5 separate regions of the Homo sapiens genome follow, and regions 2, 3, 4 and 5 are each linked to region 1. The links are contacts of gene promoters, found by promoter capture Hi-C in blood cells and fetal thymus (Javierre and others, 2016). All regions are on one chromosome and are shown on one strand. Each heading gives the region's core, a stretch centred on a gene start or on the middle of the fragment in contact. The rest is flanking DNA. Distances are from core to core; before and after follow the strand shown.

Region 1 (5,317 bases), core at 1,415-3,914:
GGGGTAGTGGTAAATATTTTTAAACAAGCAGATCTCGTGAGAAGTCACTCTTGAAACAGCACTAGTGGGATGGTGCTAAACCATCAGAAACTGCCCCCAGGATCCAATCATCTCCCACAGGGCCCCTCCTTCAACACTTTCGGATTACGATTTCACATGAGAGTTGGGTGGGGACACAAAGCCAAACCCTATCAGGCAGTAACACTAACATTTCAAATATTAACCTCAATATGGTTAGAATTGTATCATCATCAAGTATCCTAAAACATGGGAAAATATTCTAAATTCTAAATTTTCAAGAATTAACTTCAGGAAATTTATCTATTCCTAACTCTGGAAAAGACCAAATCTGTAAGGCAAAAAAAAAAAAAAAAAAAAAAAAAAAAAATTTAAGCAGCTTAAAACTGATTCTATAATGTCCTAGCACAAGGGTTGCACTTATTTTTTAATAGTCCCTCGAAGTACCTATTTATACTCTTGAGATACAGTTTTGCACAAGGTTCACTATGTGGTTTTCTTGCCTGCAGATTAAGAGCAATAAATTAAAAGGGCGGTAAGGATAATAGAACTATGTTCACTGACAAAAATAAAAAGCAACAGCTGACAATGAAAGACGGGACAGGCAAACTATAACAGACAATGGAATTTAAAAAAACAAAGCTATTCAGAGAGCCATGTAGTGTGAACATACAGCCCTACACACCATTATAGGAATGAGGACTTTATCAGTAAATATAATAAAGAGAATATTCATAACGACTACCAGTTTTCATAAAGCTGGAACGTATACCTCATTTCCCATCTGTATGTCAAATGGGACCCACACTGGTCACCACACAATCATTTGTCTGACTAGAAGCCCTTACTACCACAGTGGGTCAGGAAACCTTTTAGCTTTAGCACTAGGCTCACCACTGTTCACTACTGCAACACATTATTATTGTAAGAACATCTCTAACTCATGAGATTATCAAAGGCAACAATATTACTTTTAAAAACGTACCCAAAGTAGCTGGTTCCTAAAACAAGGTAACCTTGTATTCTATGGCACGCAGCCATAAACTAAAACCACCGACTTTTAGGACTCTCGGCCTGTTTTTCCTCAAATGCGAATATTACCTAACACTGGTGTTGTTGGGATTACATGAGATAATGTATGTAAAACACTTAGCACCAGTTCTGGGACACAGAATGAGCTCAGTATTATTTTAGCGCTGGTGAACGCATGCCGGCCCAAATCCCTTACTTGCAGGTGCAAAAATTAAGCCTCAAGAGGAGAACTGACTTCCTAAGGCTCTACTTCTACTATGTCATTGTCCTGGTTAAGCAGCTTAGCGGCAAATGTTGGGAGATTTTGGGTATTGGCAGGGCCTGGGGGCATGTGCCTGCTGGACTCGAGTCTGCAGAGAATTGGAGGAGTCTGTTTGAACCATGAGGCATTACAGGCTGTGCCTTATCAACGGGTGTTTGAGATGGCAGGTTGTGTTAACAACATTCAACACAGACGGAAGCCATTCGTCTATCTCAATACAGCCACAAACAGCAAGACCCTCAGCTACAGTAGGCTGAGTAACGGGGGATGAGAGCACGGCAGGTAACAGGATCCGGGCTTGAGCTCAACTCCCAGTTCGGTCTTTAAAGAGGGGTGAGCACTTAAGGGCTGAAACTAACAGAACTAGAAACTAACAGGATGGTATCGCAGGCAGGTGTAAGCTACCCCGCCCCTCTACGCCTTCCGTCGAGGGGAACCGCCAAATGCGCTTTCTCAGCCTCCGGGCAGGGCAATTTCTTGCTCTCTACAGGCACTTACTCCCATCCCTTGTAGATAGGGAGTGATGACCTCGCTTTTTCGTTATGGAGTGAGGGCCGGACACGCTTGGACCTCACCTCTCCGCGCCACGCTGCGGCGGCACCGCGGGAGGCCGACTCGCGCCCACGCACACCCCACGCTCGCCTTCTCTAAGATGGCGGCAGAGGCAGCTCGCTCACGCCCCGCCGCCCGCGCTCCTCCACAAGTCGTGCCCTCAGGAGGCGGGAGCGGGTGAGAGCGCGGAAAGCAGGAGGGCGAGAGTGACGCGGACCCTCCAGTCTAGCGCAGGCCGCGGAGCCCTGAAGCGTCCAGGAAAAGGAAAAGCCAGGAGGCTGACGCTACCAGGAACACCGCCGGCGCCTCAGAAACTAAAAAGCGGCGGCACATCCGGGCCCCTCTGCCCGCCCCGCCCCGGAAGTAACGTATCGGGCAGGGCGGGGGCCGCTCTTCAAAGTGGATTCTTCCCTCGCCATAGCTCGTTTCTTCACAAAGTGCCTGGAATCACCCTCGCCACCCCCTCCCCCGGGTTAGCCGTTACTCTCTCGTGGCTCCGGGACGTCTCTGTACAAAGCTGGCTGCTGGGACAGGCAGCCCTCGTTTCACAGATAGTACCCCTCGCACCACGACTCCTGGGCCTCGCCAGCGCGTGTAGTAACGTCCCTCCGAGAGGACTCTTGGTGACCTCAGCCCCAGCCAAGCATAGGCGCACCTCTTCGGAGTCCTGCGGTGGAATCCCGGCCTCGTGCCCCGTCACCCCGCCGCCCCGCCACCCCACCCGGGTTTGGGGGCCGTCAGTCACAGCGCTGCGCCCTCCCCTTCCGGCGGCTTGGCCGGGCCCGCCTCCTCCCCTCTTCCCTCCCCCACCCCTCCCCGTGCGAGTGTCTCCCTCTCCCTCTCGCTCTCTCTCTCTCTCCCTCTCTCTCTCTCTTTTGTGAGTTATAGCAACCGTTGCCTTGTGAATCAAGCGCCATAGTCACCGTAGTCCTGGCGACTGTTACCCATCAACAACAACTACTCCTCTCCTCCTCCTCCTCCTCTTCCTCCTCCTCCTCCCCACCACCACCATCTCCATCACCCACCAACAACACCACAATAATCCACAGCCAAGGTGAATATTCTTCGGTCTCTACATGTGTGTGGGAGCGTGTGGCTGCGTGTGAACGCGTGTGTCCGTGCGTGTGTGTGTTCGTGTGTGCGAGCCGAGTGTGGCTGTGCTGGGGTCTCACTCCTGACACGGGGGCTGCCGCTGCGGCGCCGCCGCCGAGGGGCTCTGTTCCCCGGGCTTGTTTACAATGGACCCTGCGCGCCGCGGCTGGGTCGGGGGTGTGGGCGCCGCGCCGCCCGCCGGCCCCGGCCCTGCGCCGGCCGCACTTCAGGGATGGAGCGGGAGCTTGGGGGGCTGCGAGCCGAGCGGGAGAGGGAGCCACAGTTTTCCGATGCGGATGCTGGATCTTTCCCTTAGGTCTGGTCTGAGGAGGAGGGTCAGGTGAAGAGATAAGAATTTGTTCTTTCTTTAATTTTCTTCTTTTCCAACGCTGCTGTTTCCTGCTTCTTTCAAAGCCGAAATAGACAACAGTGTGCAAGGGGGGGACCCAAGAGGTGGTGTTTTGTTGTTGTTGTTGTTCACTTGTGGGGCCTTGTTATGGGTTTTGTTATTTTTAATCCTCATACGTTGGTGAACTTTTCCCACCGCCCATTCCCTTCATTTTTGCCCCTCTTTGCCTGGTGCTGAATGGGCTGCTCTTCTTTCACCATCATCAGCTTCATGGTTTTCTTTTTTCTTTTTAAAACTGTATTTTCTTTGTGCGGCAAACAGTCTTAACATCCATTCAGCACTCTTCCCTCCCCCTCTTTCTCCCCCCCCCCACACACCCCTTGCACACATATTGAAACCTGGGGCCTGTTCGTTGGGCCCTCTTTGCTGTACTGGGAAAGATGTTTTTCTTTTTTAAAGTCTGTCTCCTCTCTCTTCTTTGGTGTGTGTGTGTGTGTGTGTGTGTGTGTGTGTGTGTGTGTGTGTGTGTGTGCTTGTGATTTAAACCGGATGCAGGGCATCTGTGATACTTGGGTTAGTAGTTATTGACAGTGCTTTATCCTTCATGTGGAGGTGGGAGGGGGAGTAGTGAGGTTCCGTTTCACTTTGATGATCCTCCTTCCCCGCAGTAGAGTGTTAACAATTTTCATTGTGATTATGAGACTTTGTGATGAACAGGGAAGGGACACAAGGAAGCTTTGTGAGAACTCAGTTCACAGTGTTATTTGTGACAGTTATGGTACTTTAAGAGTTTTTTTTTTTTTAATCTCCTCATTTTCCTTTGAGAGTTGAAATTCAAGTCAAGTTCATAAAGAATGTATGAAGGTTCTCAACTTGAAACGTGTGTATATTTCACTTTCTTTCTGGTTAAGATCTAGGCATGTGTGTACTTAACATATTCTTTTTATTTACTTTTTGATTTTCTTTGGACAGTGACTTGAACCTGCTCAGGAGAGAGAACTTTTTCCTTTTTAAGTATTTCTTTTAAAAATTATTTTTCTCTGTAGATTTGAATACTTATTAGTCCTTATATAGTAGGTTCTTGGTTAACGTTAACCCAGTTTTACAGATCCCCTAAATTTGTTCATTTTTTTCAGCTTAACTTTTAGTTAATAGATTTATCAGTAGAGTTTTGATAATGAATGTGTGCTAAAACAAATATAATGTACTATTGTAGTTGCACATATTGAAGTTTTAAATTTACAGTTTTAAAATGCTTATTCAAATAGTCTTCTTTCTAACAGCAAACATATATTGATTTAACTGACACAGCAGCTTGTGAATAATGTGACAGTACTAATTATTCTTGAGATTGTCAACGAGCAGGGTGGGTAATTATAATGCTATTAAGGCTAATATTTTGTAAAATAAGAGTTGGGATTTTAAAAAAACTTTTTCAATTCATTTCCTTGTGATTGCTATTTTAAATGAAGACGATATTTTGTTCTGAAAGAAGTCTTTCTCAGAGCACTCAGATTTGTTTATAATTATTCCTCCTCTCCCCAAACTGGGTTCCATGCAAATCTCTAATACTAACTTGTATTTTTTTTTCTGTTCAGATGAGTGTCAAATGCCTGAACACTTTTGGATGGTGAAGCTCCTGGGTCCTATAAACTCTCTCTGAAGTTAATAGGAGTTTTGCTGTCTTGGGACAGTTTCAGACCTTATGCCATTTACATAATAGGTTTTCAGTTAAGTAAATTATATACTATAATGTTATGGTTTAATATTTTATTTACAGTGTCTGAGAACTTTTTTTGAGGCATTTCACTCATGTATAGCTCAGGTTTTCTGTGATTTAGATTTTCATTCACAAGTTGATTTGAGAGCAGAACTTAAATTGAATTTCATTACTTTTCCATTTTTTGAAGCATATATGTGGGATAAAATTGCTATTAGAGCTGCTGTGGAATTGATTAAATAATCAGAAACACTGAGAAATGGTAAATTTAAAAATTAAACACAAGGATAGA
Region 2 (5,317 bases), core at 530-3,029, 1.5 Mb after region 1:
GACACTGGCAGGAGGCGATTTCCCCGCGTGTACCGGAAACCGGCCCAAGTGCCCCGGCCAAGGCGCGGGTGTCCGCCGGAGCCCGCACTGCCGCGCCCCGCCCTCCGCCGTGTAACTGCACCCAGGCTGCGAGGCCTGGTGCGGGGCACCGGGAGCACTGTGCTCCGTGTGCGCCCTGCGGCCGGAGGGCGCCGAGGGGCTGGCGCGCCGGACCGGTTATTTAGGGAAGTGCATCGCGACACCTTTGCAGATGGCATGGCCGTGTTTTGCAACGCAAACGGGAGGAAGGGAAGACGGCCGGGTGGAGGGGGAGAGCAAAGGAAGGGGTAAACCAGGTTGGGATGGGAATAAAGCAAACTCCTGAGCAGGGAGCGAGAAGGAAGGAGTGCGTGTCATCGTTGGGAGGAGGCTCCTACCCGGTCTCCCCGCCTCCCGCCCTCGCCACCCCCCTATTCCCTCCCCACCGCAGCCCTTCCCCTTCCCGGGCGAACCACACCGCCGCTGCCCGGTGGTGCGCGGGTCCTGTTTGTGACAGTCAGGCAGACAGGATTATCCGGATCATGGCCTCCCGGGCCCGCAGCCGCCGCCGTGGCTCTCCTGGGTCCCGGCGCGCCCCTAGCACCCGGACGATCGCAGGCGCCCCACGCCCGCAGCTCCCGCGGCGCAAGCAAGGGGAAGACGCGAAGCAAAAGAACACGGACCCGGGGAGAGGGAGGGCAGGGTAACGGAGGCTGGCGGGCACCTCCGACCTCCTTGGGGGCCTCCTCCCTTCCCTCCAGCAGTGCGGCCCGGGCCGGACATCCCGAACTTTAACACCCGAGCCTGCGCTGCCGCCAGGTACCAGAGGCAGGGACGTCCGCAGCGCCCGGGGCGCAGCCCCCTGGCAGCCCCTTTGCCTAAAGGCCTGCCTACCAATCAGCCTCCCCATCCACGCCGGAGGAAACGCGGAAAGTGGAGGTGACACCTCCGATCAGGCACGCACCGGCCCCGCGGCAGTGGCCGCTACCTCCTTCGCGCGTCAGCTCAGGCTTCTCCCGCTGCGATCCGCTCACGTCTCCGCAGCCGGAGCCCTTTGAACAAGTCCCTGGGAAGCGGGTGGCAACAGCGTCCGTTGGCGCCCCGCCGCCAGCCTGGGCTCCCCGCCCTCCTTTCCCGTTCCCCTTCCAACTCTTCCGGGGAGGGTTGCCCGGGATGAACAGTAGCGTTTCCATCCTCCTCCCCTGTCCCCCAGGCCTTCCCCCTCCTGCGGCCACCCCCCTCCCCGCCGCCTCACTTTTAAGGGGATGGGGGGATTGCAACCTGGCCCAATGTGTGTGTTGCAACCTTGAGTTGGCAGCGCCTCTGACTGCCCACTCAGGATCAAGGCTGTGGCTTGTTGGGATTTTTTTCCTCCTTTGCCCCCTTGAAGTAGTAATTATTACTGTTATTATTAGAACAGCAAGGTTCGGTTGAAACTTTCTCGTTTCTTCCACCGCCGCCTGGGAGCTGTCGTTAGAGCATTCCACCTGAGGCCCGCGGGGAGGAGGCGGGCTTTTTTTTGTCGCGGCGGTTGGCCCGCCTGTTTGTTTTGGTCTCCTTGCATGCACAATAAATAATAATTAGGATAATAATGGATAATCCCGGGCGAAGGCGGCGTGGTGCCGGAGGGGTCTGAGCGGCGGCTGCAGCGGGGCGGCCGAAGGGAGGGGAAAGAGGAGAAAAGAGTTGTAAGTTATATTTACCTTGCTCGCGAGGAGTGTGCTGGCTGAATCTCTTCCCTCTCTGAGTCACCCAGAGTACAGAAACAGAGGGAGAGAGGACTAGATTATGAATATGACTTCATTGATGACAGCCGTCCCCTCCTCTTCCTAAACTCGGGCTCCGCCCAGCGTCCCACCCTCGCCTCCTCCGCGGGCGCCGGAAGACGCGCCGCAGTTGGCCCCGCGCGCCGCTCCTCCCTGCCCGTCCGGGCGCGGGTTGGCGGGACGCGCCTGTCACTCGCTCAGCTCAGCGACTCCGGGAGCGCGGGGGGAGGAGGGGGCGGTGTGCAAGAATGTGGATCTAGACAGCTCTACTGTATGCGTGGATCCGTGTGTGACTGCAAGGCGCCGGCTCTCGGGCCGCGTTTGTGCCTGGAGCAGAGAAACTGCGCGGGATGCAGAAAGCCCCAAGCCCTGCTGGAGCTGGGCGCCCGCTGTCCCTTCCCTGGCAGTCCTCTTCCTCGGGCGCCGCGGGGCTCCTCCAGGGAGACTGCGGAAGGGGAGGAGGCGAAGCGAAAACGGAGGGCAGCCGTAGTAATAGCGCGTAGTAGTTCGGGGGTATGTGGAGAAGGTGCTGGAATTTAACTGTGCCTCCGCCTGCCAGTGCGAGCCTGCAGAGAGAGAGGGAGGGGACGGGGGACGGGCTCCGAGTGGCACCAAAGCTGTTTGTGGCACAGTGTGGACTGTGGAAAAAACGGGCATTGTCGTGCCGGCTGAAACTTTTTCTCCCCCTTCCCTAAGGCTGTCATTATAAATCTGCCCCCTATTCCAGGTAAAAAAATAAAAAATAGAAAAGGGAGGCGGGCACAAAGAACGTTCCTGCCAAATCTGTCTCTTCCCTGAAGGACTGCAAGCTTCCAAATGCCAACGAGGGAGAAACAGCTGAGAGGCTGAACGCCTTATAAATAAGTAAACCCACCCTAACCTCTCTGTTTACTTCGTGGACTAGGTACAGCACTATAACCTTCCCTCACCTGCCATCTTCGCTAAAATATATACAAAAATATGGAAAAACAAACCCTGGGGGCGGGGCTGGCGGGTTAGGGGGCGGCTGAAGCATGGAATCTGGTTTTGATTTAAAAAGGGGAATAAATCTCTTATTTTCTACAGACCGTAGTCTCTTCCCTCTCACCCCGCATTTGAGACCAATTAAGGCTGCAAATTGTAATTTGCTGGCAAGTCGCGGTTTTGAGACCTCTTTGCTCCAATTTTCCTTGAAATACAGTACTTTGGCCGGACCAATAGGTCGGTGTTTGGTGAGACAATTTTATTTTTAGTTTTATGAAGTGTGAAAGAATGTTAGGAGACTTTAAATCAGGGGCCTATTATTTTAGACTCAGATTAATGTAGATGCTTGACTCTTAAAACTGTTCCTATGCAGTAGTGTTATGAAAAGTATGATTTATCCCTTATTTCGTAATGTAATGGCTTAAATTAGTCATTCAAAGTGCACTGTGACTATCTGGTTGAGGATTCTTCCCCCTAGAGTAAAATCCTATTTTAAGACCATTTTACTGTTGCAAAATTGACTCCATTTGAGCAACTGGGTCTGAAATGCAGTTCTAGGATGCTTAAAACTTCAGGCTGGATAAGTTGAAGACAAGAAGTAATGGAAAGAACGCCAAATACTGCCATGTAGTCATTAAGAAGCAAGAATTCTTTATATCACTGGTCCACTGCTGGCTGAAGCAGAGCCCACTAGGGCAGCATTTTCATGATGGCTGGGAGTGTTGGTGATCACCCACCCTATAGCTTTCTAAGGTCTTGCTACTTGCTTGTTAACTTTAGCTTCATCATTTTCTGTCTATCTTGAAGTGAACCTCAAGACAACGAAAGATAACACAGCTAAGAGAAATAGAATATAGTGTGCCCTGAAGGATCCATTGTAAGAACTTGTTTTTCTGCCTGAGGATATGCCGGTATAACTATTAACTGAGAAATATATAGGGAGAAATTTTAAACAAGACTAGTAGTATAGTAAAAGTGTAACATAAATACTAACTTCTAACTGCCTAATAAGTCGCAACTAATAATATAGCCAGATAACCTACCTGTCTCTAATAAAGAGATTTAACCTAATAGCAATGCTTATTACATTGAGAGTATTAGGTTTTAATTTTTTTGGGGTCTAATTTGTTTCTCTGGCATGCCGGCCTCACATGCCAATTTTCAGAAATTGATAACTTCACTTTTATTCCCTTGTGAATAAATGCCCTTTATCCCCTTAAGATTCTACTTCCACTTGCCATGCAAATCCTCAAAAAAACAAAAACAAAAACAAATCAATTAGTAAGTCCCTGGAGAAAGAAACTGTCCATTCCTTCTGGCATTTTGTCACAGGGAAAGTAAAGAAGAAAACATTCCCTTTGTTATATGTGTATATTCTTCAGCTCATATAAAATTTTGATGTTGTCCTTGGAGGCGTTGGTATCCACGCATTGTATACACACAGCTATGGGAATTAAAATACATCGTTGGGAACAGAGATTAAATATAGATATTGCATCTCCCTCTCCCTTCGCATTGGTCTAAGAAAGCACCACCTTCCCCCATCACCCTTCAAGTTGTTCCTCTAAAAATTCGTCTTGTTTGTAGTTTGTACCCTAGCAGTTACGAATTTTATAAAATAAGGCCTCAACACAGGAGAAATGAAAAGGCAGCGTCATTCACTTGGTACAAAAAGAAGATTGTAGAACATATAGCATGAGTTTCACCTCTGAGGTAAAACGAAATTTAACAATTGAAGTTAAGGAGGAAAATGATGGGTTTTTTTTGTTTTGTTTTGCAGAAAATCATACAAAAGCAAATGTGGTTGGAGGGTAAAAGGACTCCAGGAGGCTGCACAGGGTGCTACGTTCACACGCAGCTTTTCTTTTTGGACTTTGATGAGTCATAATGTGTTCTCTGAACTTGCTTTTCTCTTTCTAGTTTGGTATCAAAAGATAGAAGTCACTTTTTCATGTCTGTATGGCCACATTCACTTGTTATGTAAGTCTGCTTTGGTTACATTCTGTATAGAGTAGATACTGGGTTTAAAACTTGGTATCTGGATACAACACCCTCATAAAGAAAAATTCCATGCACAACGTTAGGAAGCTTCTAGTCCCAACAGACAAACTGTTAATGCTGCCTGAAATGTTGCCTAGCTTCAAACACGAGCAGGTAAGACCGTTTAGGCAGTGAGTATTTCATCTTCAGTAATGGAAACCAAGATTTGACAAATTGAATCAGCTGACATTTAATTTAAAGAATAGTTTAGAATTAACAAGTAAATTTATTACAGAAATAAACACTCCTCTCTCTCCTTTTTTCTTTTTTTCCTTTTTGAGTCAGAGTCTCGCTCTATTGCCCAGGCTGGAGTGCAGTGGCGGGATCTTGGCTCACTGCAACCGCCGCCTCCCAGGTTCAAGGGATTCTCGAACCTCAGCTTCTCGATTAGCTGGGATTACAGGTGCCCGCCACCATATCCAGCTAATTTTTGTATTTTTTGTAGAGACAGGGTTTCACCATGTTGGCCAGGCTGATCTGGAACTCCTGAACTCAAGTGATCCACCCGCCTCTGCCTCCCAAAGTGCTAG
Region 3 (5,317 bases), core at 1,996-4,495, 1.2 Mb before region 1:
ATCAAGCAGGCATAGCCACAAATTTTCACTGTCTTGTGTCACACCTCTATCAACTCTGTGCCATAATTCAGTCCACAGGGATTATTATCTCATCATTCCCCATGACTACAAGTTGGTCCACTCTCCACTGATGGAACTTGGTAAAGCAGAAATTGCAGGTATTCCAGGTCTCTTGTTAAGATATATCTATTCCAGAGTGGGAAATAAAACACATGAACATTTTGAGAGCCTACTACCTTTGTAACATTCCTGGGGATCCAGTGTGCTGTGGCAAGTAATATATCTCCTTTGAAGTTAAAGACAACATGCATTTTCAGTAAGAAACAGGCACATTGTGACTCTGGGAATGGCTATTGGTCTGGCTGGGTGTGAAAACAGCAAGGCTCTGATATTTATTACAAGATAGTATATTGGAAGTTCACAACACGTAACAGCAAAATGATTGCTTATTAATCACCTGTGGATGTTAAGTCAGTTTTTTTCCTCAACTATCTCATTATTTGCACAATAGTTTCATAAATTCAGGGGTCGTGGTGGCATAGGTTTGTGATTATGCATAGATTCGACAGTGTAGACTCTCCCCTCAAGGATGTTCTAGTATCCTAATCCAGTTTAGCCACTGAACACCTAATTTACTAGTAGCGAAAAACACCAAAATCTCAATACGGCACAATGCACTGCAGAGATCAGCCAGCCATCAAGTAGCAGGTTGACTACCCTGGTCCCACTTCATCTCAGAGGGACTGGTAATTCCTCACTTGAACGAGCCCACTCTAGATGTGGAAGTGCCCTCCCTCCTTGCCATGCTTCTAATCAGTAATACATCTGTAGTCTTACTAAATGAATTATTCACCATACCACACTATTTTTTGACCCAGAAACTCATTTTACAGCAAAAGAAATGAAGACTGTAGGGTTCATGAAATTCACTGTTCTCATCACGAACATCACTACCCAGAAGCAGGTTTTATAAAATGCTGAAGATACATAGTGCCAGATGGGTTACAACACTTTGTGATATTTGGATATTTTCCTACACAAAATTGCTTCTGAACAAGGCACTCAGCTTACAGCAAAAGTGAAAGAACTGCTTCTCATTTACTAGGTTTCTCATGGCTTCAAAGCAACCAACTTTCAGAGTGCCAGCTGGGTGAAAACACCTTGAGGAATGTTGTTTCACCAGATGCAGTACATGCTCTGAAAGAGCAATCAGTATATGGTACTATTTTTCCTTCAGCAGCAAAACATGGGCCTAGAAAGCAAGGACTGTAGGCGGGAGTGGCAATTCACATATCACAACTAAGATTCATGTGCAAATTTTTTGCTTTCTATCCTTATGACTCAAGGCTCTGCTCATTTTAAGATTTTACTATCTGTCCAAGGGAGGCCTGTGTATTCATTTTTTTTCCATTATAAATAATACCACATTGATTATATGTAGAAAAACTTTGTCTTTATTTCCTTGGGTACTATTTTTTAGTTAAACACAGTCTTTTTTCTTTCTTTAAAATGAAAAGTATGAGCAAAGTGAATATTTTACGAATAAATTACATAAAAGGAAGGGAAAAAATTTAAAGTAATATTTATTATATTGACATAACTGAAGCATAAACGAAATTCAAAAAACGTTGGGTAAATAAACACCAACAGGAAAAAGATTTCAAAATGCCATGTAAAAAGTTCATGAACATATTACAAATAAAAACCATGTTTACTAAATTAACATACTACTTGGAATTAAAAAAAAAAAAAGTTTTAAACCTTAACTCCTAACACTTCCCAGCAGCATTTTCATGCCAGCGGTATCATGCTGCCTATAATTCTCAGAACACACCATGCTGTTTCCTAACTGCCCGTCTCATGCTGTTGCTGTTGGCTTGCCTCCCTTATACATGAAAAACTCCTATCTGTTCCTTGAAATCAAGCTCAGATGCTGGCTCCTCTGGGAAGCCTTCACTTGTATCAACCCCCCTCTTACCCTTTTTCCCCAATAGAAAAAACCTATTTTTCAGTTCTTTATATATACATTTCTATTACTATATTTATCTGAGTAACAGTTCAAGGATCTGCCTGAATTATAAAGCATCATATCCAAAACCTGAAAAAAAATGAATAATCTTTAAAACATAAGATAATCAGATTCCAAGGAAGCAAAGAGGAAAAAGAAAAAAGCAAAGACTACTTAGGAAATGGAAAGAGGCTATGGAATACATAAAGTTGTCTTAAAGGTAGTACACTATATAATAATACTTTTGCTTCTCTTTACCATTTGGTTTGCTCTGTCAATTAATTTTATTTATAACCAAAAAAAAAAAAAATTCTAAAACAAGATCTATACAGCTGTGCCAGAAGCTACAAAATTGGAGTTTGCCACTTTTCTTTTTGGCTCTCTTTTTATAAATCCATTTTTTGCACATGTACATATGATACCAAACATTACAAAGAAGGAAATCCAAGTAGTAGACTTACCAAAATGTCTGATTTTTTGCTCATATTTTTGCATAAATGATTCTGATTTATCTTCATCTTCTGTGTCTTTTCTTTTATCTTGATTAATAAAACTCTAAGAAAAAATTTTAGAAATTTAAATCAGATTTTAAATTCTAATTGAATCTTCTTTCTCAGATACTGAATATCTAGCAATTCTTCCTATAGACAATATATGTGGTATAGTATCATACTGATATTACATGATTAAATTCATCTGGTAAACTATTTTTAAAAATTAAAATTTTCTTGTATGGGAGTCTTATTAATTTTGTTTAAAATGATGTATGAGGCCGGGTGTGGTGGCTCACGCCTGTAATCCCAGCACTTTGGGAGGCCGAGGCGGGTGGATCACGAGGTCAGGAGTTCAAGACCAGCCTGGCCAACATAGTGAAACCCCGTCTCTACTAAAAATACAAAAAATAGCTGGGCATGGTGGTGGATGCCTGTAATCCCGGCTACTCGGGAGGCTGAGGCAGGAGAATCTTGCGTGAACCCAGGAGGCAGAGGTTGTAGTGAGCTGAGATCATGCCACTGCACTCCAGCCCAGGCGACAGAACAAGACTCCATCTCACAAAAAAATACATACGATATATGTGTGGATATAGGTTCATCTTAGAAATCATACAGAAAAACAACTGAATTAACCTTTTTGGTAAGCTGAATTTCCCAATTAAAAGCAGGTATAGAAACATCCTTTATATTTTATATGCATAGTTTACTTGTGCATTATTTAATTCCTATAAATATTTGCAACTCTTGCCTAATCTTTCGAGTTCTTGCTGGAAATAAACTCAGAAATTCAAAGCACATAGAGAATAAATGATATTTACCGTAAATTCTTTATTAAGACATAAACAAGAAATAGACTGTTGTTGTTGCGTGTCTTTTTTTTTTTTTTTTTTTTTTTGAGATGGGGTCTTGCTCTGTCACCCAGGCTGGAGTACAGTGGCACAATCATAGCTCACTGCAGCCTCAACCTCTTGGGGTCAAGTGATCCTCCCACCTTAGCCTCCAGAGTAGCTGGGACTACAGGTGTGAGCCACCATACCCAGCTAATTTTTAAATTTTTTGTAGAGACGTGGTCTTGCTATGTTGCCCAGGCTGGTCTTGAACTCGTGGGTTCAAGCAATCCCTTCACCTTGGCCTTCCAACGTGCTGGGATTATAGGCATGAGCCACTGTGCCTGGCCCTTTGTTGCATTTCTAATAAACTTCTTAGAAGAGACCAAACAGTTTGATTTTTAAAGTCAAGTACAAATTTCTATTAAGGAAGTACTTATTTTCAGTTAAATAAGTCATAAAATATACCAAGAATAAAGTTTGTATCTAGCTAGAAAAACTGGCAGAAGTTTCTTAGAACATTCTGTGATCATATTTATACCCCGTTATCATCACTGCCAAAAATAAAAATTGCAAACTAGATCACTGCCAGTTTATAATCAGGAAGCACTCAAAAGTTTACATATTTCAAAATAAAAGATTTTTTCTTCATGCAGTCTGACATCTAGACCAGCACTGTCCAATAGAAATACAATCCAAGTCACAAATGTAATTTAAAGTTTTCTATTAGCCACGTTAAAAAGCAAAAAGAAACAGATGACATTAATAAATTATTTTATTTATCTTAACATATCCAGCCTATTATCATTTCAACATGTAAGCAATACAAAACAATTATTAATATTTTACTTTTTTTGGCACTACATCATTGGAATCTGGTGTGTATTTTACACTTACAGCACATCTCAATTCGGACTAGCCACATTTCAAGCACTCAATAGCACATGTGGCTAGTGGCTATCAAGTTGGATAGTGCAGATCTAGACCAGTCCTCTCAAGTCTCAAGCTCCCAGACAAAACCAGTGTAGGATTTTGAGCAAATGACTGGAACATAAAGATAGTCCTAATTAATTTGTGAGATAAATGTAGGCTGTCTTAGAACCTTAGAACCTAAGTTTAAAGAAATAATTAAAAGCAGAGACAAAATGAAAATATTTTCTTTGTGACCACTGTGTTAAAGAAGAGACATTAACTTTACAAAACAAGAAATATTACTTTGAACATTCCTTCTGGAAGAAAAAAAATTATTTTCAATAGTTTTGGGATATAAATGCAGAACAGAAAATAACACAAGATGCACCCCTTAAAACAATATATACAGATATAGCAAATGACTCAGATAAAGAATGATCCCATTGTGGAGGGGGAGAAAAAGTATATATAAATTAGTACAGGCACAGAGAAAGTCGAGAAAGATATGACTCACTGTTAAAGTACTGATAGGGCTAGTGGCGATGTACACTTATCTGTGTGTGTTACTGACTGCTGTAGCAGAACTAGAGCTGGTCCAGGGAAAGGCAATTAAAAAAGTTCATGAGAGTGGGTGAAAGCAGATGCCAAGAGGACAATTAAGAAGTTTGAGATGTGTTTCACTGTTGCCCAGGCTGGAGTGTAGTGGCACGATCTCGGTTCACTGCAACCTCTACCTCCTGGGTTCAAGTAATCCTCAAGCCTCAGCCTCCGAAGTAGCTGGGACTAAGGCAATACAGGCACATGCCATCATACTCAGCTAATTTTCGTATTTTTTATAGAGACAGGGTTTCATCATGTCAACCAAACTGGTTTTGAACTCCTGGACTTAAGTGATCTGCCTGCCTTGGCCTCCCAAAGCGCTGGGATTACAGGTGTGGACAACTAAGCCTGGCCTATTTTTCAATAAATATCATTTTATTCCACATTTAAAATACTAGTTCATGAAGTTTTGCCTTTTCTCCCCTTTTCATGCATTTGAAAATCAATCGCTAAAAACTCTAGTTTTCAAATGGAAA
Region 4 (3,249 bases), core at 1-2,500, 1.1 Mb before region 1:
CTAAGTGATAAATCTGTCTCCCTCCTCATCAAGGCAAAAATTAAGCAAGTTTTCATCTCACTTCATTCACCATTATTTGTTAATTTTATTTTGATTTTTAAAAGGCATTATTCAGTGTACAATTAACAAAGAAATCAGTTTTCTACTCTACTGTACTTAGGATGCTTCAAAAACATCAGGTGAAATGATCTATGCTTTAAGAGCCAGAAAACTCAGGCCTCAGCAACTAAAACAGAGAATTCCAAAATTGTAATTACAAATCAGATGGTAAGCCTAATTTCATGCCCCTAATATTCAGATTTGTGGACACTGCAAGAGGAAATATCATTTGCTTCCAAATATCTGGCTTGAATATTGCTGCAGTTAAAGGATCTCGCTAAGGTTAAACAACAAACCCAAACCACTTAGAGCTTCACAGTTTAGCTGCTTTAGCAAGTGAAGAGGTAGTCGGTATTCAGGATGCTGTGGGAATGCAAATGATTTGATTTTGAGGCATGGCTGTTCCTTTTTCACTATGCCCCTCACTCTGAACAAGCTCATGCTTTCACTCAATCAAAACCTACTTATCACAGCCGTTCTCCAGGTTCCGAACCTCCGTATGGCAGATCAAAGTCCATAATCATTTCTATTTATAAATGCCAAAATAGTCATTAAGATTATCTGAGGACATCACTTCCATAGGTAATTTAAAGGATTTCTTTTCAGGTAGAGCAGCACTTAAAGCACATACCTTCTCCAGTCTTTCTGGGTCAAAGAATAATGAGCAGAGTCCACCCTGCGTTTGGTGGTCTTTGGTCTTATGATTTGGGGAGGCACCATGGATGAACAGCTTTAAATGTAAAGGTCAATGTAAACAGAAATTTTGGAGTTTTATCTTGTGCCTGGTATAGCAGCAGACTCCCATGATGAATTTCAAGTTAAATACTGTTACCTAAAATGTGCTGTACCTCAGAAAACGGAATTCCATGTGAAAAACTGTAGCATACAGGTATATACGAGAAAGCTTATGTTCTTGCATTGAGAAGACGTTCCTTTTCCCCACTTTATTACCCTGAAAGAGGAGCATTATTCTTTATTCAGTGGAGATGACTGGCAGCAGGGCCCCATCTCCTGTCATACTGGTCACTGGCATAATATGTGGTCAGCCTATTCCCAAACTTTCAGTTCCTCTAACTTTCCCCAGCAACTTAGTTTCTCTGCCCTCTCTCATGCCATGTTACGTTGTAAACAAAAATAAGCATGGGGCCATGTCCCATTCTTCCTCTTCTATGAGCATCTTAGATATGCCTACCTTTTAAGTGATTCCTCTTTAAGCAAGTTGGCTTTTTCTCTGAATGCTAAAAGACAGTAAGGGAGTAGTGGGAAATGCATAAAGATCTTTTGAGGGATGGAGGGAGAGGAGAGAAAGACAAGTATTATAATCTCTTTTCCCACTACCCGATCCACAAATATGGATAGAGATAATAAATTATAGAGATAATAAAGTAAAAAAGCTTACCAAGAAAATCAGGATTAAGAAGAAATCTCCCAACTGTGGCAACAGATCTTCAGGGAATAAACTAGAAAAACCTATGTCTTGGACTTTAAAAATACTGTTTAAAATCTACCTCAGGAAAAGGACTAGGATTAGTACATGACCTGTCTGCATGTATATTTACAGAATGAACATCATGTTTCTTTCTCGAAGTTCAGTTTACAAGTGGTATGTTGATTTAGGGATTATCACAAAACACAAATCTTACTGATACCAACTTTTAACAGCAACAGTATAACCACCTCAGCTTGTTTTCTTTGCAGTTGTCCTGGAAACATAAACAGTTGTTGAATAAATATACAATAGAGGATTTTTTGGGTTTTTTTGCTTTCCCTAATATGGCTGTGTTCAGTAATGGCCAGTGTGTGCTCCAGCCTAGCAGCACATCAAGATCATGGGACACCTGAAATCCCAAAGGAAGCCTGAAATGCCTAAGAGGGACAAGCGGGATGGCTGCTGGTTTAGGTTGACATCATCGAATGTGGAAACCTTCAGACTTCCTGGTGCCATAATCAATGAGATGGTGTCATCGTTGACTCCACAGTAAAAAGAGGACCGGAGCATTATGGGGTGAGAGCCAGCAATAGTCCACGATGCTGTACTGCATGTAGCCCAGAAAAAAGCCAAAAGCTACGTCGGTGACATTGTGCCGCCCCAGCATGACCCTGGATAGGCCCAAGACGAAGGCCCACAGAACCACCAGCACCCTCAGTGGAATGGCCAGCACCAGGTGGTTCAGGATGAACCTCGACATCAGGGCGGCCCTTGTGGCATGGCCCGAGGGGAAGGAGTACTTGTCCACCGAGAGAGTGACAAACATGTCCATCTGGTTGTGGGCCGGGCGGCGCCTGCGGACCAGCCCTTTGATCAAGGCCACCAGCAGCAGGTCCAACAGCAGGGCGAAGAGCAGGTTCATCAGCACCTCGCGCCCGGCCCAGCTGTCGCTCCTGCACAGGCAGTAGAGGGTGCCCAGCAGCCAGGGGATGCCGTGTCCCGAGATCTCCAGCAGCTTCATAAGGGGTCGCACGCTGCCCCACGACGAGCTCTCTCCCGCGCACACCCCCAGCTTCTTGGACAGCCACAGGTCGATGGCCAGCAGGGAGCGCAGGGCGATGCCCAGGAAGGACGGGTTCAAGTCCATGCGGTCCTCCTCGGGCAGCGGAGGCGCGGGCGACTGCGAGGGGCCCGCCGCGGCCAGGGGGAAGGAGCCGCGGCGGTGAACTGGGCTCTCCGATGCACGGAGCCGGGCGCAGGTGGGGTCCACGGCCGTGGCGCGGCTGCTGAGCAGGGACTGGAACTCAAACCTGCTGCCGCCGCCACCGCCGCCATGGGCTGGGCTGCCGGGGCTGCTGCTGCTGCTCGAAGCGGAGACGCCCAGCGGCCGTCCCTCCATGCTCCTCCGGGGACTTGGCATCGCAGCTGGCGGCCCGGATCCCGGGACCTGGCCGGACCAAACAGAGGCTTCCCGGCCCTGCAGCCTCTTCCGCTTCCGCACTACCATCCCGGAGGGGCGGGGAGAGGAGCCGGCGAGAGCGCGATTGTGACACCTGGTGGAGACGTGGGAGGGAGTTGGAATTTCCAATGTGAGGAGAGCAGAGGGGAGGATGTTGGCGTTGGGAGGTACAGGTGAGGGAGTGAGGTGATGGGGAAAATGTCAGTGTCTGTAGGAGCTTAAGAGAAATAGAGCCCCGTGTAACAAAACAAAGCAAAGTCTG
Region 5 (5,317 bases), core at 843-3,342, 1.1 Mb before region 1:
AAGCAAACGGGGCATTTATTTGAAAGATGCTGAGCATCCATCTCAGTGAGTCCAGGAAAGATCCAAACAGGCAAGATCAAATAGCTAGAACAGGACAGCCAGAGCCACTCCTGTGGGTTGGGAGGACAGACCCCAGGCAGGAGGCATCCCCCACACACAACCCAGTGGCTCCCACTACGTGTCCCAGTCCCGGCTTTTCTTGAGGACTCTCTTCTAATGGCAGCACCAATTCCTGTCCCTCCCCTTCTCCATATCTGTTTCACTGCCAGGTCCTGGCTCCCCAGCGATCTCGAGATCTCAGGGAGATGAAAAAGTAGATTCTTACCACAAAAAGGTCAGGGATTCTTGAGCCAAAAACAATGAGTCCCATTGTCTGACCACGTAGAGGGAGAGAATGGGTGGAAGAAATGGGTTGAAGGGGTTGGAATACATCTATTTCTGGATCTTTTGGGACTTGGTACTTTTGGTATAAACAGAGTATCCCTTGTATATTTAAAATTGGTGAATTTTACCACACAAAAACCAAACATCCAAAAAACCAAACAAAAAAAAAAACCTCCCGTAAAGAAACCCCTCAGATTATCCCTAGTTCTCTTGGAAGGCATAATTGCCGTGAAATCCCGGCCCCCAGTGTGCAGTGCCAAATTACAGAGCAAGACTCCATCAAAAAGAAAGGAAAGAAAGGAAGAAAGAAGGGAGTGAGGGAGGGAAGGAAGGAAGGGAGGAAGGAGGGAAGGGAAGGAAGGAAGGAAATTTGTTCAGTAGAATATAGTTAATTGGAACACGTTTAACAGCTCAACTGAATAACACCTATTTTGGCACATTTACTATGTAGCAATGCTAACTCTTCACTATAATAGTAAGAGGTAGATACTCTGTCATCATCCTGATATTTTACAAAGACGTCAAGTAAATTGTCCAAGGTCACACAGATGCTCACTGGGTTATTCTGTTGTGGGAATCTGGGGAAAAAGCTCAGAGACTAAGTGATCCCAAGGCATAGCTACATGCCAAGATTGGGGTAGTATGACATTATCTTTTTCTCCTTACTTGTATTGATTGTTTGCCTTTTTCTCAATACCACATGTAGAATGTGATGTTTCAAATTTTGCAGGGGAAATTAATGAAAGCTTAAGGAGAATCATGAAGAGCTCACTCACTGAGACAATTGAAGCATCCTTAAAGAAATGAACACTTTTTGTTGTCTGTGTTGAGTCACTGATGTCTAATCCCCTTTAAACCAAACCCTGTACTCAGTCTTTTGTGCCCAGGTAAGAGTTGTTGATTAAAGTGTTTGCTGTTTGGGGGCTAACATTTTCTTGTCAAGCTGGAAAATTTGTGTTTTTGCATGTTTGTTTTGAACATGAAAGAGAAAGCGCTGTAGTTGGGTGGCAGGTGCTTATCTGAACACTTCCCCTCTCTCTCTCTCTGGCTCTCTCTGGCTCTCTCTGTCTCTCTCTCTCAAATTAATTATATATGAGCTAGAGGAAGTTGCTATTCACAGGAATAACCTGATAAATCCTCCAGGAAAGACTATCAACCTGACTTTCTCTTTTCGGTAGATCCGTTTTTGTTGTTGTTTGTTTATTTCTTAGTGTTAGGCTTGATTTACGTGAAGTCCACTAAAAACCTTGGAAAAGAGAGCATTACGTCTGGGTAGTTCAGATCTTGTTTTAGATGTTGAATGTCTGTGATAAATTTGTAAGAGGAGGCTGGCTCCTCTGGAGCGTAGTTTAAACTGCTCCTTCTGTTTCCTACTCCTTCGTTCCAGCAATTCTTTGTAAATTTAGATGAGGAACAAAACCTTCCTCAAATATTTCTCCAAAAGAACTACACATTAAGTAAATAGGTTCTACAGATAGGACTGCCAATGCCAGGTTTTAAAGTTAGTTAGGAAGGTGCATCTATGAAATGCTTACACAGTGTGAGGGAGCAGGAATAGGAAGGGGCTGGGATAAAGGGAGACTAGAGGCACATTTGTCTTCATTGATACAGACCCAGAGAAGAGGGGCCTGAAAATGGAAACTTATTTCCCTCCTTCATAGTGTAAGCATAGCATTTTCCTCTACCAGCCCTACTATAGTGTGAATGTTTGTGTCCCCTCAACATTTGTATGTTGAAATCCTAACCTCTAAGGAAATGGGGCCTTTTGGGAGGTGATGAGGTTGTGAGGGTGGACCCCTCATAAATGAGATTAGTGCCCTATAAATAGGCTCAAGGGAGCTCGTTTGCCCCTTCCACTGGCGAGGAGACAGCGAGAAGGCGCCATCTCTGACCCAGGAAGAGGGCCCTCACCAGATTCTGCATCTGCCAACATTCTGATCTTGGACTTCCCAGCTTCCAGAACTGTGAGAAATGAATTCCTGTAGTTTGTAAGCTACCCAGTTTATGACATTTTGTTATAGCAGCCTGAATAGAGTAAGACACTACCCTAAAACTTGTTCAGTTTTTAGAAGATTCAGTGAGAGCCAAGTTTTCTTTTCTCACTGTAATCATAGGGATTGGTTCATTAGGTAAATTAAGAAAATGAAATTAAAAATTAAAACAGAAAAGGAACTCCAAAAACAAAAACAACAAAACAAAATTCATTTATCCTCTTCTTAGAATTTCAGCCAAATAAAGGTATATCCAAGTTGAACCTCCCAATCTAAAAATCTGAAATCTGAAATGCTCCAAAATCCAAAACTTTTTGAGCACCAATATAACACCATAAGTGAAAAATTCCACATCTGACTGCATGTGGCAGGGTGCAGTCAAATGCATTCGAAACTTTGTTTCATGCTCCAAATTATTTAAAATCATGTATAAAATTACCTTCAGGCTACCTGTATAAAGTGTATATAAAACGTAAATGAATTTCGTGTTTAGACTTGGGTCCTATCCCCTATCCTGAAGATACTTCATTGTGTTTATGTAAATATTCCAAAATACAAAAACAAAAACCAAAACCCAAGTTTAAAATACTTCTGGTCAGTCCCAAGCACTGAAGATAAGGGAGACTCAACCTGTATCACAACCAGCATTCCACCTTGGCAAGGCCAACAGCAAGCTTAAATTACATATGCTAATATGTTCTCAGTCTCTCTGAAACTATGGTTGTCAATTTGTTGTTTTGATGTTACCTCTAAGTAGTCATCAAAAGTAAGAAAATATTGTGTTACATTAAGGTTACGCTATAAGTCTCAGGAGAGGGCTGCTTACGTAAGCAGCTAAAGGAAAGCAGCACTAATGAATTGGTATCCCATTTCAGTTATTGTTAAAATATACACCATGACATTCAATATTCAGTGTTTTTTGAAATGGTTTAAGCATAACTCTTTAATAAGATCTTAAATGCCCATTCTTATTTAAAGTCATTTTTGGTTTTCACACTAAATTACGCTTTTTTTCCCTTTACTTTTGCATCTATTAACTCTATTCCTTAAATTATTATTATTTTTACTTTTGTTTCTCAAGGAGTTATCTCAATTTTGAGGAATCATGCTGGGGCAAGGATTGCAGTTGAAGTATTTTGCTTTTGGAGTGTATAATAGTATGAATAATTTTGTGATGTTTTGGGGTTTGGATTACTTTGGGAAGATCTGTGTCATTAAACATCATAAAAAGAATTCCCATCTGTCTTGCTTCAGTTTATAATTCCTTTCTTGATTTTTATGGTTGCAGATCTGTCAAAGCCTGGAGCATATTTTATGGGCATGTTTCATGGGGTCTTGGTTTGCAGAGGCTCCTAAGAAAATCTCCTTTGTGGAACCTAGGCCCTCCAAACAAAAGCTGCTGTACAATGAGGCCAGTTCTCTGTGGTCACCTGACTGACCCAAAGTTAGCTGAAGCCTGTAGGCCATGAATTATAAAAGAGATTTTTAAAAAATGAGAGTGCAAATGATATGTTTGACATAAAAGAGGTGGCGGGTTTTAGGTGTAATTTGAGAAGACTGATGGGTATGTGTGTGAGTTCAGCCCTAGCACCCAAATGCCAGGCTACTCTCAGTATAGCCAGTACTCCCCTGAGTTGGTCCATCAAAGGAGCCCGCTGGGCTCTCTGGAGGGCAGCCTGAGGAACAGGATATGCTCTGTAGTCCATGCTGTGACCAGAGAACCCACTAGTACCACCGGATGGGACTGCTGTCTTTCTCTGGTTAGGGGACCCCTCCTAGCACTACTTAGCGGACCTGCAGGTCTTAGGGAGACCTCTTCTCTCTTCCCTTGTGCTGGGAACCCTGCCAACAGTGATGAGAGCCCCAACCCTTTGCTCCTTTGGCCTGGGAGCCCCATCCTCCACACTGAATCTAGGGGCACCAAATTATGGCAATGAAGTTACTTTGTTTATCAAAGGAAAGAACCTATGCTTAATTTCACATAGGGAATTTGGTCAAAACAGGGTCATGTCTAGGACAGGAGCTTTTACATGGTGCAGATGGGTCCTTTTCTTGATGGCTGAGTTGATGGAGCTTCTTCAACAAAATGAGGAGTTTCTAGTCCAAAATTTTTCCTTGGGATTCTGCGTCTTTTAGAGTGATCCATTAGCTCCGCCCACCTCACCCCCCACGCCCCACCGTGTGTGTGTGTGTGTGTGTGTGTGTGTGTGTGTGTGTGTGTGTGTGTGTATTTTGTTTTCTTTTTTTATATATATAAAAAATAGAGAAGGAGTCTCCCTATATTGACCAGGCTGGTCTTGAACTCCTGGCCTCAAGTGATCTGCCGCCTCGGCCTCCCAAAATGCTAGGCTTACAGGTATGAGCCACTGCGCCCCTCCGAGTACCTGGATTTAAATCCTAGTTCTGCCATTTACAGGCTGAGTGCCTTGGACAGATAATTTAACCTCTTTGTGTCTCAATGTCCTTATGTATAATATGGAGGTAATAATAGTATCTGTCTAATAATGTTATTGTTGGTAGATAATACATTTAAAGTACATTAAATCAGTGCCTGGCACAAAATGAGCACTCAGTGAGCATTAGCTATTCTTATTCTCATCTCATTTAATTTTTTGAGGAAAGCATTGCTCCCCCTATTTCTTGCTAAGGACACTGAGGCTCAGAAAAGCAAGCGTCAGAGCCAGTTTGCAAACCCTGCTCTGTCTTGTTTCCAAACCTCAGGTTCTCTGTACCACTTCCTGTCACCCCTTTGCTGCCACCTGGTTGGCCCTGAGGCATCACAGATAATTCAACTTAAAGGGTTTGAAAAACATGAACTCAGAACATTTCAGAATAACAGAGCAACTAAGGTCTCTTGACAGAAGTTGGAACAATTAACCACTTCTTGTTTAGGCCAACAAGAGAGGCTTTCTGCTCGTATTTCCTGTCATTGAAATGTTATG

The links. The method cuts DNA at HindIII sites, captures the fragments that hold promoters and counts their contacts. A CHiCAGO score of 5 or more calls a contact.
Region 2: the fragment with the promoter of SMARCA2 here is called in contact with the fragment with the promoter of RFX3 in region 1 in 1 of 17 cell types (fetal thymus); the score reaches 5.0 in fetal thymus.
Region 3: a contact is called between a fragment that was not itself captured here and the fragment with the promoter of RFX3 in region 1, in 1 of 17 cell types (naive CD8 T cells). The highest score is 6.5, in naive CD8 T cells.
Region 4: a fragment that was not itself captured here is called in contact with the fragment with the promoter of RFX3 in region 1 in 3 of 17 cell types (fetal thymus, naive CD4 T cells and non-activated CD4 T cells); the score reaches 8.8 in fetal thymus.
Region 5: a fragment that was not itself captured here is called in contact with the fragment with the promoter of RFX3 in region 1 in 2 of 17 cell types (naive CD4 T cells and non-activated CD4 T cells); the score reaches 5.9 in naive CD4 T cells.

The regions. Positions count from the first base shown.
Region 1 is chr9:3,523,348-3,528,664 of GRCh38, reverse strand. RFX3 (regulatory factor X3) reads left to right here and starts at 2,664. Exons shown (of 17, transcript NM_001282116.2): 1 at 2,664-2,918. LOC124902110 (a long non-coding RNA gene) reads right to left here and starts at 2,180. Exons shown (of 8, transcript XR_007061398.1): 1 at 1,888-2,180. RefSeq lists enhancers at 1,720-2,019, 2,280-2,329, 2,907-3,523 and silencers at 2,510-2,699, 3,130-3,219. The HindIII fragment of the contact is 14,491 bases long and covers 1-4,042 here.
Region 2 is chr9:2,011,809-2,017,125 of GRCh38, reverse strand. It overlaps SMARCA2 (SWI/SNF related BAF chromatin remodeling complex subunit ATPase 2), which reads right to left and starts at 1,779. Exons shown (of 34, transcript NM_003070.5): 1 at 1,722-1,779. RefSeq lists silencers at 10-119, 420-589, 1,730-2,069 and enhancers at 777-1,333, 2,120-2,169, 2,230-2,279, 4,490-4,619. The HindIII fragment of the contact is 4,329 bases long and covers 1-2,595 here.
Region 3 is chr9:4,685,759-4,691,075 of GRCh38, reverse strand. CDC37L1 (cell division cycle 37 like 1, HSP90 cochaperone) reads right to left here. Exons shown (of 7, transcript NM_017913.4): 3 at 2,470-2,563. Among named protein-coding and RNA genes, the nearest start is that of CDC37L1, 8.8 kb to the right of the region's middle. The HindIII fragment of the contact is 6,570 bases long and covers 1-5,317 here.
Region 4 is chr9:4,662,075-4,665,323 of GRCh38, reverse strand. All of the region lies in intron 1 of SPATA6L (spermatogenesis associated 6 like), which reads left to right. PLPP6 (phospholipid phosphatase 6) reads right to left here and starts at 3,030. Exons shown (of 1, transcript NM_203453.5): 1 at 66-3,030. The coding sequence starts at 2,948. The coding sequence ends at 2,061. RefSeq lists a silencer at 2,636-2,895. The HindIII fragment of the contact is 490 bases long and covers 1,006-1,495 here.
Region 5 is chr9:4,596,607-4,601,923 of GRCh38, reverse strand. It overlaps SPATA6L (spermatogenesis associated 6 like), which reads left to right. Exons shown (of 12, transcript NM_001353486.2): 12 at 1,115-3,608. Among named protein-coding and RNA genes, the nearest start is that of PLPP6, 63 kb to the left of the region's middle. The HindIII fragment of the contact is 1,919 bases long and covers 1,133-3,051 here.